Linked DNA regions of Homo sapiens: regions 1, 3 and 4 are each linked to region 2. The links are contacts of gene promoters, found by promoter capture Hi-C in human tissues and cell types (Jung and others, 2019). All regions are on one chromosome and are shown on one strand. The core of a region is centred on a gene start or on the middle of the fragment in contact, and the rest is flanking DNA. Distances in the headings are between cores, read along the strand shown.

Region 1 (2,853 bases), core at 1-2,500, 630 kb before region 2:
GCGGGAGCGAAGATCCTGAAGACTCCTCTAGCGCAATAAACCCTCCCAATTCTGTTGGAACGCGGGCTCTGGGATCGCGGGGAAGCCCAGAGGGGCGAACCCCGGAATTCCCTGCCCTGAGAGCGGGATCAGGGATCTCAGGGACCCGGGAGCAGAGGGAACCCCCGCAACTCCGCCGAAACACAGGGTGAGAGATCGTGGGGAACCCCGAGCCGAGCGAAGCCCGCAACTCTGCCCGGCGGGCGGGATCAGACGCGTCTCCGGCGCTCCCAGACCGGCGATGTAGCGTGGCCGGGAGCCCAGGACCCCAAGCGCCGCCGCTGTCGGCAAGTACCGCCGCATCTCTCCACAACCCAGGACCCGCATGGCAACGGCCATGCTGGGGGGACTTCATTCAAGAAACTCGGGCCCCGCCGGGAGCGGTGGCCCACGCCTGTAATCCCAGCACTTTGGGAGGCCGAGGCGGGTGGATCACCTGAGGTCAGGAGCTCGAGACCGGCCTGACCAATATGGTGAAACCCCCGTCTCTACTAAAAATACAAAAATTAGCCGGGCATGGTGGTGTGCGCCTGTAGTCCCAGCTACTTGGGAGGCTGAGGCAGGAGAATTGCTTGAACCCGGGAAGCGGAGGTTGCAGTGAGCCAAGATCGCGCCACTACACTGCAGCCTGGGCAACCGAGCGAGACTCCATCTAAAAAAAAAAAAAAAAAAAAAAACTAAGGCTGAACCCGGGCTCCCGCACGCCCGCACCCACCTGCGCGGCCATCACGCGCTGCCTCTCGGCGATCAGGTTGCACTTCTTGCACTGGCAGTCGCGCCACATGCAGAAGCGCTTGTGGCCCTTGAGCGGCGAGGCGTAGCCGTGGTTCCTGCAGCGTGCGCACTTGGGCAGCCGCGGGGACTTCTTGCTCCCGGCACCCAGGTCCGACGCCCCGGAGCCGGAGCCGCCTCCTCTGCTGCTGCCCCCGGCGCTCGAGCCGCTGGCCGCCCCCACTAGCGCCCCAGACGCTTTGCCAAAGCCCCCGGCTCTGCCCTGCGGCGGTACCCCGGGGGCGTGAGGGGCTTCCGACGGTGTAGAGGGCTTGCTGAATGCCTCGTCGTTGGGCATGGTGCCCCTAGGAGAAGTGCGAGCACTCTGGCCCCCTCTCTCGCCTGGAGACTGCTGCGAGGGATGAACCCGACGGACAGCGACGCTCCGGAGGAGGAGGCGCAGGAGACGTGTGCGCTGCAGCCGGAGGCGCAGCTGGAGTGGCGAGGTCTGGGCACGCCACGCCCGGAGTGGTGGGGGGTTGTGCCTTTTCTTTTGGCGCGCGCGCGACTCAGAACTTTCGGATACTTTTCAGAACATTCCCGGGACTGCCTGGGAGGGAGCGTGGCCACGCCCACCGCCCCCCGACTCCAGCCACCGCTCTCCAGCTGCTTGCAAACTTGCACCGGCTGCAAGCATCCAGGGCTTTGCTGCAGGGTCCCTGCAAGCGCACCGAGAGATACAGAGCGGCCTGGGAATCGCGTGGCACCCCTCGCCCCGCTCTCGGAGGCGCCAAGACCCGGTTGCCAAAGCACGGTGCACCGAGGAAGCTGGGCTCCCCAGGTCAAGACCAGAGCCGTGCTTGCATGCTTAGAGGAGGTGCAAACCACCCTATGGGGTCTTCTAGCTCCCTTTCCCCCAGAGAGACGCACCAGATTTGATAGAGCCGACCTTGGCAGCAGCCAAGTCAGAAAAAAATTTTTTTTCTCGCTTAAGAGAATTAAATATGAGGTGGAAGGCCTGAGAAATTTATAGGGTAAATCAGAGTTGCCCTATATACGGCAAAGAAGATCCTCAGTGTTGGGGCACAAGCACTTCAAAAATCTCAAAGGTTGGAACTTTCTGTTCTCCGTTTATCCCTTCCTGCACCTGTCTTCATTTGCTCACAACACTTCTACCTCCTTCGCTCCAAATAACTTTACGATCTACTGTTGCAGCCCGTGTTCCCGTTCACTTCAGGTGCATATAGCTTCTTGTCTGTGAGGCTGTTTAAACTTAGACTCTGCAGGCACGGGAAACTCAAACTTAAAAAGAAACATATGTATTAAAAAAAACTGAGGTTGTGGGGGGTGGTTACACAGATGTAGAAATGTATCAAAACTCATTCTACACTTCATATCTTGCATTTTACAGTATGTCATTATACCTCTACACACACACACACACACACACACACACACACACACACACACACCCCTGGCTCGATCATCTTACAGCCTGTCCCAGGGTTCTCATCCTGAACTCCCGCCCCAGCCATGCCTGTGTCCTCTCTGCACCTGCACAACAAATGTATCCCTAAGGCCTGCTGAGCAGTTCTTCCTACACACCCACGTGCCCCCCTAAGGCCAGCCCTTCACCTCAAGTCTGAATCTCTGCGGTAGCTCCCAGCTGCTATCTCCATGTCTTAGTCTTCCGGTATATTCTATACACACAGCAGGGGGCCCCAGCAGTACTTTGCTATTGTTTTCCATGTTAACAAGTTAAAGACCCCGGAGTGGCTCTTAATGCACTTTGAATGCTCCTTATTTTCCACCAGCACTGGTACTCACCTTCAGGATCCTGGGCCGCCTCCAGACCTAGGGGATTATTTCTCCAAAGAGGCATGGTCACCCTGTTCAACTTCTCATCAAAATGGTTGTACTGTGGCCACCTCTTTCAGCAGTTTGGTGTTTTCAGCACTGAGTTCTGAAATCCTCGAATCTGCCTTTGGAGCTCTAATTCTGAGGCCTCTCTCACAGGCCCTTTCCCTCAGTCTGAAATTTCTCCATTAGTATTCTCTGTCTGAAAATTACTTCCAAAAGAAGCTTCTAGCTTTACACAGCACC
Region 2 (2,700 bases), core at 1-2,500:
GGAAATAAAATCGTCAATAAAGCTCGATATGCCCTCTAGAAGACCTTATCGCCTTGTTTTTCTAGGCTTTTAATTCCTTGTTCAAACCTCTTCACACACTAACAGCACAAAGATGAACCTACGGTGGAATCCACCTTTCACAGGCTCAGCTAAGTGAAGATTAACAAATCGGACAGCCCTGTGGGCAATAGAATAAGTTGACACTTTAGAATGAGTTTCCTATTATCTTTTAACTAGACAGTCTAGCTTTCTCAGGGCAAGACAAAAATGTCCCAATTACTTGTCAGCAGTTTTTAGTGGAGGAAAAACTGCAGTTAAAGCACCTTTACTGAGAACTTTGAGCAGTAAATGTGCTTACATATTTAGTTTGTGCAACTTTGATTAGGAATTGGATGGTGAGTTGGGATCCCCCAGTCCTTAGCTTTTTGCTGGAGTTCTGTAAATCTCAAAATGTCAGCCACAGGCCATTTCTTTTGGTTTATTTAAGTGTAGATTTTTTAAAAAATCACTTTTTCCACTTCATGGCTCCTTTGGACCAGGGTATAAAAATAGCGATGCCACCAGGAGCCAAGCTCTTTCTGGAATAATGAAGCAGGCGAGGACGGAGCCTTGCTCAGGACGACAGAAGGCTTGCAGCCTGCCTCAAACGCAACTCTAATTTCAGCCACTTCACTTCTTCCCCCCGCGCTCAGACTTGCCTCAAAGGAAGGAGCCGTTTATGAGACACTCCGTGGCGCGCCCAACACGGTTACCCAGGCGCCTATCACCCTTCTGGGACCCGGCCACCTGTAAGAACCTGGAGGGCGGAGCGGGCGAGGTTGTTCGGGGAAGGGATCCCCGGCGGCTGAGGACATCCAGGAGCACCGAGATTCTTGGGGAGGACCTCGCCGGGCCCAGCGCAGGAGCCGCCGCGCGTCCAGCGGCTCCACCGCCGCAGCCTCGGGAACCGGGCGCCCCAGGTCTCAGGCGCGCCCCGCCGCGGACGCGAATGGACTCGTCCGGCCTCGGCCCCTGCAGCGAAGCTCCGCTTCACACCAGCGCTGGGCTGTCCGGCCGCAACCTGCGCGCCGCGGGGGGCGTCTTACCTGTTGATCTTGAGCGCGAACGCGCGGCGCTCTGCGCTCGGCAGAGTGGCCATGGCCCGCCGGCGGTTCGGTGGCTTCTAGGGTCGCGGGGTGCGGAAAGCGGGGGCCTGGCGCGCCGCAGAGTAGCCGCGGAACATGCCCAGCCAAGCGCAAACCTCGTCTGTCGGTCGGCGCTGGAAACTTCCGCATTTCCACCTTCTAAGCCGAAATCACCCCGGGGGAGGGTCCGAGCTCGGAGCAGCGACGGCCGGCTCCGCCACCCGGCCTGGCGCGCAGGCAGCGGCGGGCGAGGAGGGCGTGGGCCCAGCGCGGAACTGGCCTCCCGATACTGGGGCAGACGGCGCGCTCTGCCCGGGGCCGCCGACCTCCGGCCGAAGGGAGCGCGGGCGGACGACAGGCGACCACTGCGCGCAGGCCGGAAGCTCCATCTGCCCGAAGCTGCGAGGCTGCCAGGGAATGTAGGCAAGTCGGGGGAGCCCCACAAAGCTGGCGAGGTCGGGAATCACCCCAGGGATTCGTAAGGCTAGGTGTTATTAAGGGTTGACACCATTCTCGAAGAAGGCAGCCAAAAAAAAAGACAAAAAAGTTAGTGGAATCTATCAGGATTCAAATCAACTTTTGCAAGCAATATGCCCATCATCCTTCCTGAGACACTAAATAAATATAATGGATTCATCCAAGGAATAAACATTATGAGTTCTCAAAAAATGTTTTCGTCACAACCTGGCGTGAATGCTTTTCTCCGGAGAAACACTGAAGGCGGCGTTCTTGCGATTCAAGGGTACGCTGCGTCCAGGTTTATTTCAGTTTCAGACTGAGGTCTGCTAAGAAGCCCGGCCTCAAACTCAAGATAAAAACAGAAAAGTCCCAGTGTTGACGGGAGTGGAGGAGCCCGTGTTCGCTTCAAGGTGCCGGCGTGCTGCTCTAACCTGTGCTATATATACTCGAGCACTCTCCATATAATGCCTCCATTTACCAACTTGCTCTTAAAAAATACCAAAGCAGGCCGGGCGCGGTGGCTCACGCCTGTGATCCCAGCACTTTGGGAGGCCGAGGCGGGCGCATCACGAGGTCAGGAGATCGAGACCATCCTGGCCAACGTGGTGAAACCCCGTCTCTACTAAAATACAAAAAATTAGCCGGGCGTGGTGGCGCACGCCTTAGTCCCAGCTACTTGGGAGGCTGAGGCAGGGGAATCACTTGAACCCGGGAGGCGGAGCTTGCAGTGAACCGAGATCTGCCACTGCACTCCAGCCTGGCGACAGAGCAAGTCTCCGTCTAAAAGAAAAAAAAAAAAACAACCAAAGCGAAGTATTTTTGGTTCAAACCTGCACTATTTAATATGATAGCCACTAGCCACATGTGGCTATTGACCACTCGGCATTATGGTTAGTCTGAATTGCCCACTGCTGGATGTGTAAAATGTACACTGGAATTTAAAGACAGCGCAGAAAACATCGTGTAAAATGTCTTGTTAATGATTTTCATGTTGATTGCATGTTAAATGATACTTTGGATATAAAAAATATATTATTAAAGTTAATTTCACCTGTTTGTTTTCCCCTTTTAAAAATGTGGTTTGCATTTTTAAAAATGTAAAATTACACATGTGGCT
Region 3 (2,812 bases), core at 313-2,812, 580 kb before region 2:
GCGGCTCCATGCCTTCCTTCTCCAGTGTCTAACAGGCTCACAATGCAGTGACTATTGTGGAATGAACAAGTGAGTTTGGGTGGCCCCAGGGCTGCGGTGCTGATGTCACTAGAGTGTGGTGGGAAGCTATCACTCACCTCGCAGGTGGGAGAGGTGATGTTGGGGGATGTGGCTCCTTTGAAATATCCGCCTGTTCTGGTCGGCCGGTGCGGTGGCTCACACCTGTGATCCCAGCACTTTGGGAAGCCGAGGTGGGTGGATCATGAGGTCAGAAGATCGAGACCATCCTGGCCAACGTGGTGAAACCCCGTCTCTACTAAAAATACAAAAATTAGCCGGGCGTGGTGGCACACACCTGTAATCCCAGCTACTCAGGAGGCTGAAGCAGGAGAATCACTTGAACCTGGGAGGCGGAGGTTGCTGTGAGCCGAGATTGCGCCACTGCATTCCAGGCTGGGCGACAGAGCGAGACTCAATCTCAAAAAAATTGTGCCTGTTCTTTCCTCTGGAGACGGGTAGAGCAGCCTCACAGGGTACGGCCAGGAGGGAGGCACCCCGTGGAAGAGGCATCTCAGGCACGGTCTCGGGAAGGATCGTGGTTGTGCCAGAAGGATTGTTTCCTCCAGCCTACTCCTGAACCTGGAAACCAGCAGCTGCTCTCTCAATCAAGGAGAAAGAAAGTAGAGGCCGCACCTTCCTTACGTGGTGCTCATGGATTCAGGGAAGAAACCCAAATCATGACATGAAGGTATCTTACCTGGGGTCTTTGGTTTAAATTTGCTGTGTGTGACTAATTTAAAGAGATTTGTACTGTTTCTCATAGGTAGCCTTTTCCTTTCTCATTGCTACACAGTTGTAATTATCCTGGGTAATTTCCTTTCAAATATTTTTGTTTTATTTTAAAAATGTGAACATTGGCCGGGCGCAGTGGCTCACACCTGTAATCCCAGCACTTTGGGAGGCCGAGGCGGGTGGATCATTTGATGTCAGGAGTTCAAGACTAGCCTGGCCAATGTGGTGAGACCCCTGTCTACTAAAAATACAAAAACTAGCTGGGCGTGGAGGTGTGCACCTGTAGTCCCAGCTACTTGGGAGGCTGAGGCAGGAGAATAGCTTGAAACCGAACCTGGGAGGCAGAGGTTGCAGTGAGCCAAGATCGCGCCGTTGCACTCCAGCCTGGGCGACGGAGTGAGACTCCGTCTCAAAAAATAAATGTAAAAATGTGAACATTGATGTAGTATTTCCCCTACATATTTTAGTTTTACATTTCCTAAAACTACAAAAAGCAAAATAAGCAGAAAAGAAGCACACTTGGTTCAGACCTAAATGCTCTGATACCGTAGTTTCCCACCATACGCAGCAGAGCATGTGGGTTAAGAACATGGGCACAGAGGTAGTTTGGTTCACCTATGGGGGCCTCTGTAGTTCATTTAACATCTCAGAGCCTTTAGTGTCCTCTTTTTTAAAATGAGGATGGTGAGAGCCTCTTAAGATTTTTGTGGTAATATAATGAGCTACTGCGTGTAAAATTAGGTACGGCCTGGCCCAGAGTAAGTGCTCAACTATCATTAGCTGGGAGCAGACCAGGGGCTAAGGTAAGTGTATCCTCAGGAGAGTAAGCTAATCAGCCACTTTGGAGCATGCCCCCAGCTCTCACACAGGAAGATTTAGTCACTGTCCTGGGTTGACAATTGTCATATCACCCCCCACCCCCAAATTCATGTTCACCTGCAACCTCAGAATGTGATCTCATTTGGAAATAGGATCTTTGTAGATGTAATTAGTCAATTTAAAGTGAGGTCAGGCTGGGCACAGTGGCTCATGCCTATAATCCCAGCACTTTGGGAGGCTGAGGCGGGCAGATTGCTTGAGCCTAGGAGTTGGAGACCAGCCTGGGCAACATGGCAAAACTCCTCCCTACCAAAAATACAAAAATTATCCTGATGTGGTGGCGTGCCCCTGTAGACTCAGCTATTCAAGGGGCTGAGGTGGGAGGATTGCTTGAGCCCTGGAGGTCAAGGCTGCAGTGAGCCATGACCCACTGCACTCTAGCCTGGGTGACAGAGATCCTGTCCAAAAAAGCCAAAAAAAACAAATTGATGTCATACTGGATTAGAGGGGGCTAATTCAATTCCTGGTATCCTTATATGAAGAGGGAGAATGTGGACACAGACACACAGGGGACAACACCATGTGAAGACCCAGACACAGAGGGAAGAGGACCGGATGAAGACAGGTAGAGTTTGCAGTGATGTATCTACACACCAAGGAATGCCAGGGTTGCTAGCCACCACTGGAAGTGAGTGGAGACAAGGGCTCTCTTATATTCTTCAAAGAGAGCTTAGTGCTGCCAGCACCTTGATTTTGGACTTCCAGCCTCCAGAGCTGTGAGACAATTTATATTGTTTTAAGTCACCCAGTTTGTAGTAATTTTGTTACAGTAGTCCTCGCAAACCAATAGTCATTTAGCAGAGACCACACTGCATTGAGTGGGCCTTATGCCCTGCTTTCAGCTAAAGCCTCTTGCTTTCTTTAGTGGGAAATTTTAGCATGAAGGAGATTAAGAGAACAAGACTTTAGGGTTTTGACAAATGGGCTATAGCTGATACTTCATTAGATTGTCAGGCATGTGAACAGATTGAGGAGGATCTTAACATGCATTAATTACTGAACTCAGAAATGTTGCTGCAGCAGCAGCAGCACTGACAGGCTTTCCCTGTGACTTTTTTTTTTTTTTTTTTTTTTTTTTTTTTTTTTTTTTTTTTTTTTTTTTTTGGCCAAGGTCTCACTCTGTTGCCGAGGCTGAAGTGCA
Region 4 (2,843 bases), core at 80-2,579, 590 kb before region 2:
ACACACCGCACACACCACACACACACACCACACACACCACACACACACACCACACACACACACCACACACACCACACACACCAGACACACACACACCACACACCACACACACACACCACACACACCACACACACACACCACACACACACACCACACACACCACACACACACACCACACACACCACACACACCACACACACACACCACACACACACACACACACACACACACACACACGTTGCAGAGCAGCATTATCTTATAACCTGTAAAGGATTGTACTAAATGGGAACTAAATGGTCATTGTGATGGTTATTTTGTTTGTTTGTTTGTTTTTGAGACGGAATCTCTCTGTCACCAGGCTGGAGTGCAGTGGCACAATCTCAGCTCACTGCAACCTCTGCTCCCCGGTTCAAGCGATTCTTCTGTCTCAGACTCCCTAGTAGCTGGGACGACAGGCACAAGCCACCACGCCCACGCCCAGCTAATTTTTTTGTATTTTTAGTAGAGACAGGGTTTCACCATGTTGGCTTGGATGGTCACTGCAGTAAGCATTTTGCCTGCATTATTTGTTTAATCCTCAGAACAACCCTATGAAGCATATACTACTGTTGTTCACCTTTTATAAATTAAGAGAGGCTCTGAGAAGTTAACAGCTGTCAACTTTTAAGTAGCAGAGCTGTGAATCGTACTCATCTCTGTTCCCCACACAGCTCCCAGGCTGCAGCCACTGCAGAGGATAGCATCCTCTGGAAGTGTTCTTAGTATCTATGCGAATTTTGTCCTTGGGGCCATCTCACCTCTCATTCCCCTTCTCTTCCACTCCTGGCCTGCTCCCTTGTTCCTATTACCCAGTATAAAACTTATTCCTCCTGAATCAGGGTTGGAAAGCAATCTGATAAATAGTTATTATTGGCTTGGGATTCCTAGCATTTGCCTTTCAGCAAAGGATATCTGTAACTCCCAAAAACTGAGTGGTGGGATTTGAGCAGGGGGGAGGAATTTCAGCAGGTGGGTAAAGTATTTGGAGGCTATGTGAGTTAGGCTACTGACAGGAGGAGGGTGGTACCCTTAGGTGGGGAATGGAGGAGAATTTAATAAAGAGATAATTTACAGAAGTTTGAGGAAGGTTAAGGGAAACCAACATGGGATAGCAACAGGCCTCCCTGGGGATGGCAACAAAGGGAGCCACCACCATCCGACACCTGAAGGGACAAGGAATAGTCCTAGGAACCCAAGAAAGGGGCTGAAGCTTTGGAGAATGCCATCTGGCAGAGGCCTTGGCTTCAGCAGAGACCTGCAGCCAACCTCTGGTCACCCAGCAGGGAGAAAACCAGGGAAAGAAAGACTCCTTCCTTGCCCTTGTCCTACCCTCCTACTTTTAAGGGTACCTTTTATGACCACACGCAAACTAAAGCTAGAGGACAAGGGGCCTGTTGATGCAGTCCATAGAGGCCAGATTTTGGGACACAGAGCAGAGTGGAGAAGAGGGCACAGGGGACCTGGAGGGCAGCGCTACAGCCTAGGATGGTGGCCGTCTGTGACAGGTGAACACAGGGCCAGTTTCATAAATGAAACACAGAGGATACCTCAGTTTTCATCAAGTGGCTGGGAGCATAGCAACGAAGGACACAGGGAGCTGGACTGCCTGGCCTGAAGACTGCCCTGCCATTTCTACCTTGGTGACTTTGGTGAAGTTCCTTAACCCTTCTGTGCCTTGGTTTCCTTATCTGTGAAACAGGCATGATAATCTCTACTCATAGGATTGTGAGGATAGAATTAATTGTAGCACTTGAACAAGGTCTGACTGAATTAACACCATCCTTATGACACTCCAGGTACAAAGCAGGTAGGAAGAAGCAATGTGCCCTTAGGTACTTACACGCTAAGCGGGAGACAGACACACCAGCCCTCACGACACAAGGTTAGGTGAGCTGGCAACTGAGGAGAAAGACTTGGCCGAAGGAGGGGTTGATCCTGCACCTCAGTGGGTCAGGTAGGGTTTTGCAGAGGAGGAGCCTTGAGCAAGGACTTGCAGAATGAGTTGATTTGCAGATGTGCCCAGTACACATCAATTAACAGTTCTGGAACTTTAAGGAAGGAAGGAAGTCCAGTTGGGTATTAAAAAGACTGGTAGATTTGTGGATTGTCAGAGGACAAGAAAGAACCCTGGAAATTAGGGCACAACTAAGCAGTGCAACAAGAATCCAGTAGGTGGCATAAATACCCCATTCATTTGGAGTTCCATTTGTCGTTTTTTTGTTTTGGTTTTTGGGTTTTTTTTTGTTTTGGATTTGGTGAATTTCTTTTTTTCTTCTTCCCTTCCTTAAGCTGCCCATTTCACCAACACTGTTGTTAGCAGTTTTATATGATCTTTATTTAATGCAATTAGATTTGCCTTTAGATCAAAGCAAACTATTTACAATTGATATAATAACTAAGCACCTCTCCAGAAAGAAGGTTGACTGCTTTGCAAGTATGAGCCCATTGTCTTAGTCCATGTGTGCTGCTGTAACGAAATATCACAGACTGGGTAATTTACAGCCATGAGCCACTATGCCCGAGGTGCTAAGGCCACCTCTTCACCTCTTTTTTTTTTTTTTTTTGTGATGGAGTTTCACTCTTGTTCCTCAAGCCAGAGTGCAATGGGGCAATCTCGGCTCACTGCAACCTCTGCCTCCCAGGTTCAAGTGATTCTCCAGCCTCAGCCTCCCGAGTAGCTGGGATTACAGGCATGTGCCACCATGCCTGGCTAATTTTTTTGTATGTTTAGTAGAAATGGGGTTTCACCATGTTAGCCAGGCTGGTCTCGAACTCCTGTCCTCAGATAATCCGCCGGCCTTGGC

What was found. Contacts are between HindIII fragments. The study calls those that stand out against the background at their distance.
Region 1: the fragment with the promoter of DMRT1 here is called in contact with the fragment with the promoter of DOCK8 in region 2 in 4 of the 25 tissues and cell types used here (H1 embryonic stem cells, IMR-90 fibroblasts, dorsolateral prefrontal cortex and 1 more).
Region 3: a contact is called between a fragment that was not itself captured here and the fragment with the promoter of DOCK8 in region 2, in 2 of the 25 tissues and cell types used here (dorsolateral prefrontal cortex and thymus).
Region 4: a fragment that was not itself captured here is called in contact with the fragment with the promoter of DOCK8 in region 2 in 1 of the 25 tissues and cell types used here (mesenchymal stem cells).

The regions. Positions count from the first base shown.
Region 1 is chr9:840,094-842,946 of GRCh38, reverse strand. It overlaps DMRT1 (doublesex and mab-3 related transcription factor 1), which reads right to left and starts at 1,250. Exons shown (of 5, transcript NM_021951.3): 1 at 755-1,250. The coding sequence starts at 1,108. The HindIII fragment of the contact is 5,420 bases long and covers 1-2,853 here.
Region 2 is chr9:213,415-216,114 of GRCh38, reverse strand. It overlaps DOCK8 (dedicator of cytokinesis 8), which reads right to left and starts at 1,250. Exons shown (of 48, transcript NM_203447.4): 1 at 1,086-1,250. The coding sequence starts at 1,138. It overlaps DOCK8-AS1 (DOCK8 antisense RNA 1), which reads left to right and starts at 365. Exons shown (of 1, transcript NR_160804.1): 1 at 365-2,658. RefSeq lists silencers at 776-915, 1,086-1,135, 1,186-1,235, 1,246-1,495. The HindIII fragment of the contact is 11,669 bases long and covers 1-2,700 here.
Region 3 is chr9:789,569-792,380 of GRCh38, reverse strand. No RefSeq gene overlaps it. Among named protein-coding and RNA genes, the nearest start is that of DMRT1, 51 kb to the left of the region's middle. The HindIII fragment of the contact is 5,334 bases long and covers 1-2,812 here.
Region 4 is chr9:806,118-808,960 of GRCh38, reverse strand. The region is part of intron 1 of LOC105375949 (a long non-coding RNA gene); the gene reads left to right. Among named protein-coding and RNA genes, the nearest start is that of DMRT1, 34 kb to the left of the region's middle. The HindIII fragment of the contact is 3,829 bases long and covers 1-2,843 here.